3 separate regions of the Homo sapiens genome follow, and regions 1 and 2 are each linked to region 3. Evidence: promoter capture Hi-C in human tissues and cell types (Jung and others, 2019). All regions are on one chromosome and are shown on one strand. The core of a region is centred on a gene start or on the middle of the fragment in contact, and the rest is flanking DNA. Distances in the headings are between cores, read along the strand shown. Region 1 overlaps NEGR1 (neuronal growth regulator 1). Region 2 overlaps NEGR1 (neuronal growth regulator 1). Region 3 holds the start of NEGR1 (neuronal growth regulator 1).

Region 1 (3,505 bases), core at 274-2,773, 670 kb after region 3:
ACCTTTAACTCTATACCTTGCAAAATGCTCTTAGGACTTTTTCTTATGCATATTTATTCATTCTTTATCCATATTTCCATGTGACATTTTAGATATCTTTCCATTTTCGGTGTCCATCATAGCAGCCCACGAAGCCCTAGATAACAGGATCATGTCCCTTTAACTTGTGTGGTAAAGCACCCAGTACTGAGCCGTATGTACACTGTACTGCACAAAAGCCTTTTAATGATGAACTAGATTTTGATTTCGGTTCATTACGCCTGGGTTTTCAGGCAATGTTCCGGTTTTCAGGCAATGTTCCGGATTTCATGCTTTTGTTTATAATGAGTCATGGCCCCCTTGACAAACAAGAGAGTAATTAAACTAACCAGGTTATCAGTAGAAGCTTGTGATGGATCTCCTGTTGCATATGGTTATTTCATCTTCAATAATAGTTAGATATCATAAAAGATTACAGTCTGTTTGTGTGACAGGAAAGAGAGATTAAAGCCTATGAGAACAATAGTGAAAATACAATCTTACCTGTACCTGTCATGAGCAGTGTCATAATAATTGACAAGTACATGAAGTTTTATTTATAGATTTTTTAATATATTTAATTGGCTTTTGCAGGTGACATGAAATTTTGCTTAACAAAACAATTTTAAAATTATGAAATGATTTCTTGTGTTTGTGAATATACGTATATGTATACACCCATATATAGATAAATGTGTATATATAAGGGTATATATGTATATGTACATTATAAAAGTTATACATATATGATTTATATATATATAAAACTGGGTGTGTGTTTGTGTATATGTGTGTATCTATATTATCTTGTAACAGTTCTCATGCAAACATTTTTTGGAAATATTATTTCATTTTTTTCACCAATTTATTAGCAAGTACTTTAGCAAAAATATTTTCCTTGCAATGTTTTCTAGAACTATAAATAATAAGAATAAAAACACCACAGAGAAATAGAAGTGCAATAATTTCAAAAAGAAGTATTTCCCTTAACAGAAAATGATGTATTTCCTAGGGTATTTTTTTAGTTGAAAGGCAATGTTCCATTGTAAGAGTTTTTATAGTTTTCATATGTTGAAAACTATATATTCAGTATTCACTGAATATTGATAAACCATTAAGTGCTGTACTTTTTAATTGCTTTCCAAAGAAATCAAAATACATCCATAGTGCACACTTAGGCCATATTTCTGAATGAACTAGTTTTTGTATCTTCAAGATTCTAGTTGTTGATTAATAATTTTCTATAGTGTTATTTGAAATATGAATTATAGTATGTTAAAAACTTGGCAGAATAGGAAATATTTATGAAAAGACGCATGCATACAACTCCTAATGTTTCCCTCCAAAATTCTTTTTTTTTTTTTTCGAGATGGAGTTTCGCTTTGGTTGCCCAGGCTGAAGTGCAATGGCAGTCTCAATTCACTGCAACCTCTGCCTCCCGGGTTCAAGCGATTCTCCTGCTTCAGCCTCCCAAGCCTCCCGCTTCAGCTGGGATTACAGGTGCCCACCACTATGCCTGGCTAATTTTTGTAATTTTAGTAGAGACGGGGTTTCACCACGTTGGCCAGGCTGGTCTCGAACTCCTGACCTCAGGTGATCCACCCGCCTCGGCCTCCCAAAGTGCTGGGATTATAGGTGTGAGCCACTGCACACAGCCCCCTCCAAAATTCTTCTATTTACTGTCCTTTTCATCTCAGTCAATAACCTTCCAGCTACTCAAGCCAAATTAAATCACCCTTGACTCCTCTTTTTTTCTCTATGTCACTTCAGTCTGTCTAGAAATCTTATCAGCTCCAATTTCAGAGTAGACCACAAGCCCGATAACTTTCCACCACTTGCACTGCTACCACCCTGGAGTGAGCCACCCACCTTCATTTGCCTTGCTTACTGCATTCCCTACTTTATCCCTAGACTTTTATCCTAGCCTCACTATGGTCTTTTCTCAACACAGCAGCCAGAGTCATCTTTTCAAAAAAACAATCAGATTTTATCTGTACTCTGCAGGGACTCACCATTTGTCTTAGAATAAAAGTCAATTCCTTGAAATGACCTGAGAGGTCCTACCCAGTCTTCCATCCTTTGTTTCTCTTTGGTGTAAACTTGGAATCCACTGAAAATTGGTCCTATCTCCTCCTACTCTCCTTCTTTCTCTTTGTGTCGGCCACACCAATCTTGCTATTTATTAAACAAACTTGGCTAGCTTCAGCCTCAGTGTCTTACTGCAAGCTGTTCCCTCTTCCTTCAAGGTTCTGTCTCTAAATATCCACATAGCTAACTCACTCATTTACATCTAGTCTTTGTGCAAGTTTTGCCATCTCAATGAGGCCTACTCAGATTACCCTATCGAAAATAGTATTCCATTCCATTCTCTGATTCCTCTTACCTTGCAACTATAAGGGTTTTGTTTTTGTTTTACTGTATTGTTTATCACCTTCTAACATTTTATTTAAACTACTTATTTGTGATATTTGCTGTTTATAGTCTGTCTCCCCATTTGTTACCCCATCTAGAATATAAGCTTCATCACGTCAGGGCAATTTACTGCTTTGTTCCTTGAGAAATGCCTGGCACATGTTGACAGCTGAATAACTATGTGAAGGATAAAAAAAAAAGTTATGCTACAAAAAAAGCTTTTTAAGCATCACACTGTGCTAGGCACTGTGTAATGATCTTGGAATATACAAAGAATGAATCAGATATTTAACCCTGCCTTCAAGGAACTGAAAAGGAAATCTGGCATACCCATAAATACAGTACATGATACAGTGCAATACATTTCTTTTTTGTTTTGTTTTGTTTTGAGACGGAGTCTTGCTGTGTCGCCCAGGCTGGAGTGCAGTGGCACAATCTCGGCTCACTGCAAGCTTTGCCCCCTGGGTTCACGCCATTCTCCTGCCTCAGCCTCCCGAGTAGCTGGGACTACAGGTGCCCACCACCATGCCCGGCTAATTTTTTGTATTTTTAGTAGAGATGGGGTTTCACTGTGTTAGCCAGGATGGTCTTGATCTCCTGACCTCGTGGGCCACCCGCCTCGGCCTCCCAGATTGCTGGGATTACAGGCGTGAGCCACCGCACTCGGCCAATGCAATACATTTCTATCAATACATGATAGAAAGTTGATGGTATGAGAGATCCAGATACTCAGAGGCGGGGAAACTTTTTCCAGCTAGAGCAATAGGGAAGAGCATGGGGACACTGATGCCTAATATGGATCTTGAATCTGTGGAAATGGGGAACAACGGCATTCGGGCAGAAGAAACTACATTAAAGAAAAAATCACTAAATTACTAAAGCATAGGGAGGAGGCAGGAAAAAACACAGAATATTTCAAGAGCCCAGGCTTTGAGTTAACATGCCTGACTTCAAAGGCAAATTCTGCAACTAAGTAGCTGTGTGACCTTGACAATTCATTTAACATCTCTGAACTTGACTTTTCACATTTGTAAAATTGAGATAATACCATCAAGCTTAGAGTATTTTTGTGAGG
Region 2 (3,693 bases), core at 357-2,856, 720 kb after region 3:
GTTCCACTGATGCCCTCAATATTATTCTCTGCTTTTCAATATCTTATCTCCATTGCATCTATCATATTTATTTCATGTGCCTTTTCTTCCTTCAGCTGTGTGCTGTTTCATTTTTCTGTCTCTGCACTGTACCTGGTGAAGAAACTGAAGAGTCAGCTGGCACTCTCTGCAGGTTTTTGTCTGCATGCCAATACTTGTTGCTCTGTCCTATTTAGAGGGCCTGAGTTCTTGATGAGGAAATGTGCTCTGCAGAGAGACCAACACCAGTTTGGCAATCACAGGGAGAAACACTTATTTTCCCTGCTAAGCAAATACCTTGTTACTGAAAAACCACTAAGAACTGAGATGAAGTCTGTATACAAGAAATGACATGAATCATAAAAGTCTTAGCCAGGCTTAAACTATTGTGTATACATACATAGAAGCATACCCAAGCACACAAACTCCAGCTGCTTATTTTTTCCTTTTCTTTTCCTTTGAATATGTCTTAATTCCCTAGTAACCCCAAGCCAAGGATTAAGTCAAGTAGGATCTCAGTAAGAATCTGATCCAACCCTGTTTTGGATAGAATTCATAGAAAGGCTTGAAGCTGGGGAAGCATGGCTTCCTACGAGGAACCACCAGGGAGTGTTTGGTTTACAACCATTTTATTTTATCTGGTTACCTCTCAATAAATGGGCCTTTGATTGGTTTGGGAAGAGGATCTCAGTACTGATTCTTCGCCTTAAAATATCATGCAAAATTTGTGTACTTACCTAATGATATCTAATTGATAGTTACTCTTAACTTCCTCTTTGAAGCAGTATGATACATAGTAGAAAAGGATGAACCCTACACTGCAAATCTGAATACTTGAGTTTTAACCATGTCTCTGCAATAGGTGACCTTGGAAAGTAACCTAATGTCATAGGGCACAGGAAGAGATTATCTCTAAATCTTTTTATAGCTGAGTCAATGATTATATGATCTGTGAGTTCCAGTTTTATCCTTGTGAAACATAATTATAAATAGTCTATCATATCCATATACTAGTTGCTTTGACAATTTTATAAAAACGACTGGCATCCAGAATTGATAAAACATAGTCATTTATAAAAAATTTTCTTATTTCTTTGAACTATCAACAAAAATTGCGATTAAATTTTTGATGTTTTCTTACTGTATAGAGCACATCTTTGTACATATCAACACTAAGAGAGAAGATTGAGACAGGGAGGAAATATGAGTAAAGGAAGTACTGGGTTTTGACTTTTAAAAAATTGAGATCCAAAGGAAGCAGAGCTTTTATTTTTTGTTCTTTTGTGGGTACAAAAATAAATGTAAGAAAAGATAGCAGAATGGGGAAGATAAAGATTGTGGAGTCACAGAACTGGGTCCAAATCCTTAATCCACTACTTAACATATGTATGATTTTTCCCAGTTTATGAAATTAAGTTCTCTAATTCTTAAATTTTGGAAACAAATACTATGAGTGTATGTGGTGATGATAATGTAAAATAACATACGTGCATTCCCCTAGCAAGGGGCTACTCATCCTAGATCAGTACTTCCCAAACTTATTTAAAGTGCAAACAGATCACCTGAGATCTTGCGAAAGTCAGATTCTAATTCACTACATCTGCGCTGGGGCCTGAGAGTCTGCATTTCTAACAGTCTCGCAGGTAATGCCAAAGCTTTGCGTTGCATGGATAAAGGCATTTGATAAAAATGTAGAATACCTTTGGCCTTTTTCCTTCCATTTCCAAGCATAAATACATATTTGTTTTGAAATGATAGAGTGGAAGGTTGGTCTTTTTTTTTTTCCTCCCCGATCAGTGTGCCTCTTCTGTTCCAGTCGTCTGTCACCTATAGTCAGGGCAAAGGACACCAACAGTGTATCATTTTCAAGTCAAATTGTGTCAACCTGCTAGGACAAGTTCCCCAAACTTTCACAGGGCTCTGTGATCCTTCCTTTATTTTTTTTCAGCCATCACTTCCAGTTCACAAATGCTAGATTTATTTATTAAAGTCTTCACCCTCTTTTACACTAGAAAGGCAAGATTCCCAGTGAAACTCTTTTCTTTTGCTTGTTCCAAACTTCTTTCTGTTAAAAACAAATATAACAACGACAAAAAAATCTTTCTCTTACATATCTGCAGGCTCATGTCTTTACCATTTTTGTGCTCTTCTATTTCTCTAAATGATAGCAAAGGGCCTAGCAACCATTTACTTGTCTTTCTAGTTCTTTCAGTCAATAATAGATGATAATTTACTCTCCCTCTGTATGATTGGAGCATATTTTGAATTATCCATTTAAGCTTCATCTGTAATTAAAATTATGTGGGCATTTATGACATTATTCTGCAAAAATGCTCTGTGGGCTTTCTCTGATCTAGCTCATGGAGTCCAGGTGCAAAGCAGCATAAAAACATTGAGGGAAAAATCAACCCTATCTTGGGTTCATGCACCGGCCATTTATCTGCCAGCTTACAAGCAAAATTCATAGATGTGTCTTTCCAGGAGATTAAGTATCTCCCAGAGTCAGCAGGAAATCTGAACTGTTATCTTGTTGCACTTAAGTAAAAGGTAGTCAGTCCTCTCTCTCTCTATTCCAATATGTTTCATGGAGAACAAGCACTCTTTTATAAGCAAACAAATATATGCCACGTGAGATTCTATTATTATTCACAAATATTCACTTACTTCCCCATGAGAGGATTACACATTTATACCCATTTTTAGATAATGTGCAAGGCCTTCTTCCTATTGACATTGGTGATCATGTGACTTGCTTTGGCCAATGAAATAGCAGAAGTGATGTGCACCACATCTTAGCACAGGCTCCAAGAACTACTAATGGTTATGTCTCAGACTTTCCCTCTGCCATGAGAAGAATATGAGCCAGGTAAGTGATATGAATCTGGTCCTAGAATGAGGAAGACACATGGAACAGAAGCAAAACTGCAGTTGAACTGTTTACGTGAGCAAGAAATAAATTTTATTGTTGGAGTCACTTAGACCTTGACTGTTATAACAGAATAACCTAGCAAAAGCTGAACAAATCACTGCTTTTACCTACACAAATGATTTAAAGGAAAGAACACAGCCCCTAAATAAAAGAAAAGAAAACAAGCTAAATATCCAAGTAATTTCATACATTTTTAAAAGGTGAGAACTAAACAATTACATTCTTCCTTGTGCCTTAGGAAATCTGTACTAGGAAAGGCTTACAGATTTCATAAGATTCTAGTGCCACTTAATTGAAAGTACCTGCTTCTCAAGTTGGAATGAAAATGACTATGAGGTATTAGATGAGGAAAAAACCCAGATTATTAAGATTTGTCAAGAGTGTGACGGGGTAATGGTAAGCAATGTAATATATTTGCTCTTCATATTTTAGAACCAGGAAAAATACCAAGGAATACCTGAAGATTTATGTCCAGTGTTTTAAAGAAGGAAATAAGATCTTTCTAGATTCTAGGGCAAATTCATGCTTTCAAATAGTTATCAAGATAGTGACAGAATAGGTAACAGAGCAGAATAAGTTCTACTAAGAAAGTTTATTTTTCCTTTTCACTGTCTCTTATTATTATTATTTTGCCCGATAATCTTTGCCATTTATTAATGACAATCTGAATTAAACCCTTGGCACCTACATTGTCACTAGAAACGTTTTTGGCTACAGGGCAAGATAAAGAACTTTAATAAGTCATT
Region 3 (3,539 bases), core at 410-2,909:
GCATTGATTTGCAAATGGCCCGGAAAAGCTTAAGGATCTTGAATCTGGAAATGAGTTCAAGAAGGAAAGAAGAAAAAAGAGTAGGGGTGGCCCCACGCCTAGTATCTCCTTCTGCCTTGGGCCAGGGCAGGGCTGAAAACAGCCCGGCGAGCTGCGGAGGGGCTGCTGCGTGGGGAAGCGGAGGTTACCGCTCTGCACCGCGGAGGAGCAAGCCTGTTAACGCGGTGTGGAGGCTGTTAAGAAATACAACCCTGCGACTCGTTAAACCCCTTAACTCTGCCCTGCCTTGACTCGGATGCGCCGATTATTCGGCCTGATAGGCTCAAATGGGTTAAACTGCCTCTTACATAACTGGACCGCCTGGGCTCTACACAATTAAAACACTTGATTGCAGTCTTTTCCCGACTCTACATCCCAGCATGACCCGCCCCGTCCCTCCCAGCGCGCCTGCGTGCCGCGCGTGCACAGGCCCCCGCGCGCACGACACGCTCTCTATCACACACACACTCCATGTTGACCATAAACAATCCCCTACTCACACACACAACTTAGTGTCAACACCCACAGATAAAAGAGGGGCGTCCTGCAATCCATACGGGCCGACCGCCACAAACACGCAAGCTGCTCTGCCGCAAGGCCTTGCACCTCCTCGTGTCCCCGCAAAAAAGCAGCGCCCCGCCACCGTCCCTACCTATTCCCGAGAAAACGCAGAGAGAACTAGTTGGCTGCTCGCTAACTGCAGCGTAGCCACCCAGGCAAGATTAGAAGAAAATAAACAAAAAAACAACTCACAGTCGCCGGCGTCATGATGGCGCCGACCACAACTTGGAGGACTTCAAACTTACGGTGCCTCGAGAGGTAAAACGCACCGGTGAGGGAAGGCAAAGCGCCCCTCAGCTCTCTTCACCCCAGCCCTGACACGGAGACTTTTCTAGCAAAGAATCCCTCTAGCGCTTACGACAGTAAGGAGAGCCTTCATTCTAAGGTGCCTCTCTTTCCCCCTTAGTTTGCATAATTGTGATACAGTTCCTCCTATTTTTTTTTTCGTTGTCTTGCTTTTCTTTTTTTTTTCTTGCTATCTTTTTTCTTTCTTTTTTTATTATTTTTTTAATCCCCCTCCCTTCTCCATCCCCAGTCCCCTGGCGGGGTTGCTAAGGAAACGGCCGCTTGGCAACGCGCGCGAGCCCGGGAGCCGGCGGCCGGCGCAGCGCTCCGCGCTGCTTCTGCTGCTGCTGTTGCTGTTGCTGCTGCTGCTGCTGGGATTGCAGCCGCCGCCGCCGCCGCTCGCCCTGCCTCCTCCCCCGCCGCCGCGCCTCCTCCCTCACTCGCCGGCGCGCTCGCCTCCTCGCTAGATGGTGTGCGAGCCGCCCGAGAATTAGACACACTCCGGACGCGGCCAAAAGCAACCGAGAGGAGGTGTAGTGTGGTGCCAGGGGGAGGGAGGGGAGGGAGGGAGGGAAAGCGAAGAGGAGGAGGGGAGGCAAAAACACCGAAAAACAAAAAGAGAGAAACAACACCCAACAACTGGGGTGGGGGGAAGAAAGAAAGAAAAGAAACCCACCCACCCACCAAAAAAAAAAAAAAAAAAAAAAAAAAAAAAAAATCCTGTGGCGCGCCGCCTGGTTCCCGGGAAGACTCGCCAGCACCAGGGGGTGGGGGAGTGCGAGCTGAAAGCTGCTGGAGAGTGAGCAGCCCTAGCAGGGATGGACATGATGCTGTTGGTGCAGGGTGCTTGTTGCTCGAACCAGTGGCTGGCGGCGGTGCTCCTCAGCCTGTGCTGCCTGCTACCCTCCTGCCTCCCGGCTGGACAGAGTGTGGACTTCCCCTGGGCGGCCGTGGACAACATGATGGTCAGAAAAGGGGACACGGCGGTGCTTAGGTAGGAAGAACGGCGTGCTTTTCGTACTTGTTTCGGTCTATCTTTCTGTCTCTCTTTGAACCCTCTTTGCCTTCTTTATAACACAAGCAATAATGCTGGTGGTGCTCATCATGGAAAGACCACATCCCAAGAATTCCAGGTGCAGATTCTTCCCGGAGCCCCGGCCCGTTTATGCTGGGGCAGGTAGCAAGCTGGACTCGTGATGCTAAAGCACTTTGCCGGAACGCCAAGTAGCCTGGGGATGAGTGAACTGTCAGGTTTAGAAGGAGGGGCAGGTGCCACTTTGAAACTCAATGCACAAGGTCTCTGTTTTACTGTCATGGGGTACTCCTGGAGAGTCTGACAAGTTTATCAGGTTTGTTTCTATTTTACTCCAGCATAAGCGACTCTTTCAAACTGCTGTTCTCTGCTCCCATTTATTTTCCCTCTCACTTGGACACTTAGGCTCGATTTCTTGCTCTTTATCTTTCTTTCCTTTTACCGCTTTCTGTTTTCTTTCTTTTCTCCTTCCTCATTCTCTTATACCATTTTCCCCACCTCCTTGTAACTCTTTTTCCCTCCAATATCTCTTTTCATACCTTTTCTATTTTCTGTTTTTTCCCTCCTTTTTAAAATTTCTTCTCATATTTTCTCATTTTTATCTCCACGACTCTAATTTCTGTTCCTCACATTTAATCCCCTTTCCTCCTCTCTTTTACCCTTTTTTCTTTTTGTCTATTTTTTTTATTCCTCCTTAATGTCCCTATCCTGTGCCCTGTCTTCCCTCTTTTGACTCCCATTTCTCATCCCTCTCCCCATACCGTTTCCCACCCCTGTGGCACACACAGGCATGGTCACTGTTCCCCTCCAGTACCATTTACTCACCCTCATAAATCTTATTTCCATAAACATACTAACTCACATACTCTCACATCCTCACATGCACTGGCACTTCCATGCTGTAAGAACCACTTCCACATTCAGATTGTCTCTCACTGTTTTTAAAAGGCATACTCTCCTTCTCTGTTCCACATTGTCACTCACACATGTGTACACACTGCCTGTCTCACTCGCTGCTCTCACTCTGTCTCTGCTTCTCTCTTTTTCTCTTTCTGTGTCTTTCTATCCCCTTTTTATTCCTACCTTCCTCCCTCCATCAGTCTTCACTTTTACTTATTTTTCTCATTTTCCCTTCTTTCCTCTGAGCTTGAGCTCTGAGGTGGTTTGTCATTAATAAACATCCATACCCTGATTTTACCCCTAAGCAACACTGCAGAGTGGGAGTCTGGGAATATTTTATTTCCTATGAAAATATAAATGGATGATCAGCAAAGCTTAGATCTAAACAAAGCTAAACGCCCTATTCCTTCATTTCTTTCCCATCACCCTCCCTTCTCCCCCTGCCACCCCACCTCACATTTCCCTGAAAGATCTTCTTTTTCTCCACTGGGTGGTAGTTGGCTTGTAAGTCTGGCTTGCACAACATCAGTGTACATGACATGTCTAAGGTGAAAGAGAGTGGGAAATGTTTCTGTTTGAAACATGCAACATATTTAAATTTAATGATGTGGGTGTGGTATATGACTTACACCTTTTGGAACATGCCTATGAGTTCAAATTTGGAATACTATCGTATTTTTTAATATACACTAATACATATGTTTTTAATAATTTCTGTTTT

Evidence for each region. The method cuts DNA at HindIII sites, captures the fragments that hold promoters and counts their contacts. A contact is called where the count stands out against the background at its distance.
Region 1: a fragment that was not itself captured here is called in contact with the fragment with the promoter of NEGR1 in region 3 in 1 of the 25 tissues and cell types used here (hippocampus).
Region 2: a contact is called between a fragment that was not itself captured here and the fragment with the promoter of NEGR1 in region 3, in 2 of the 25 tissues and cell types used here (dorsolateral prefrontal cortex and hippocampus).

The regions. Positions count from the first base shown.
Region 1 is chr1:71,611,535-71,615,039 of GRCh38, reverse strand. The region is part of intron 4 of NEGR1 (neuronal growth regulator 1); the gene reads left to right. Among named protein-coding and RNA genes, the nearest start is that of NEGR1-IT1, 220 kb to the left of the region's middle. The HindIII fragment of the contact is 3,323 bases long and covers 1-3,184 here.
Region 2 is chr1:71,562,069-71,565,761 of GRCh38, reverse strand. The region is part of intron 6 of NEGR1 (neuronal growth regulator 1); the gene reads left to right. Among named protein-coding and RNA genes, the nearest start is that of NEGR1-IT1, 270 kb to the left of the region's middle. The HindIII fragment of the contact is 6,633 bases long and covers 1-3,693 here.
Region 3 is chr1:72,280,659-72,284,197 of GRCh38, reverse strand. NEGR1 (neuronal growth regulator 1) reads left to right here and starts at 1,659. Exons shown (of 7, transcript NM_173808.3): 1 at 1,659-1,879. The coding sequence starts at 1,704. LOC105378797 (a long non-coding RNA gene) reads right to left here and starts at 1,264. Exons shown (of 6, transcript XR_947506.3): 1 at 793-1,264. RefSeq lists silencers at 1,223-1,312, 1,413-1,472. The HindIII fragment of the contact is 4,654 bases long and covers 1-3,539 here.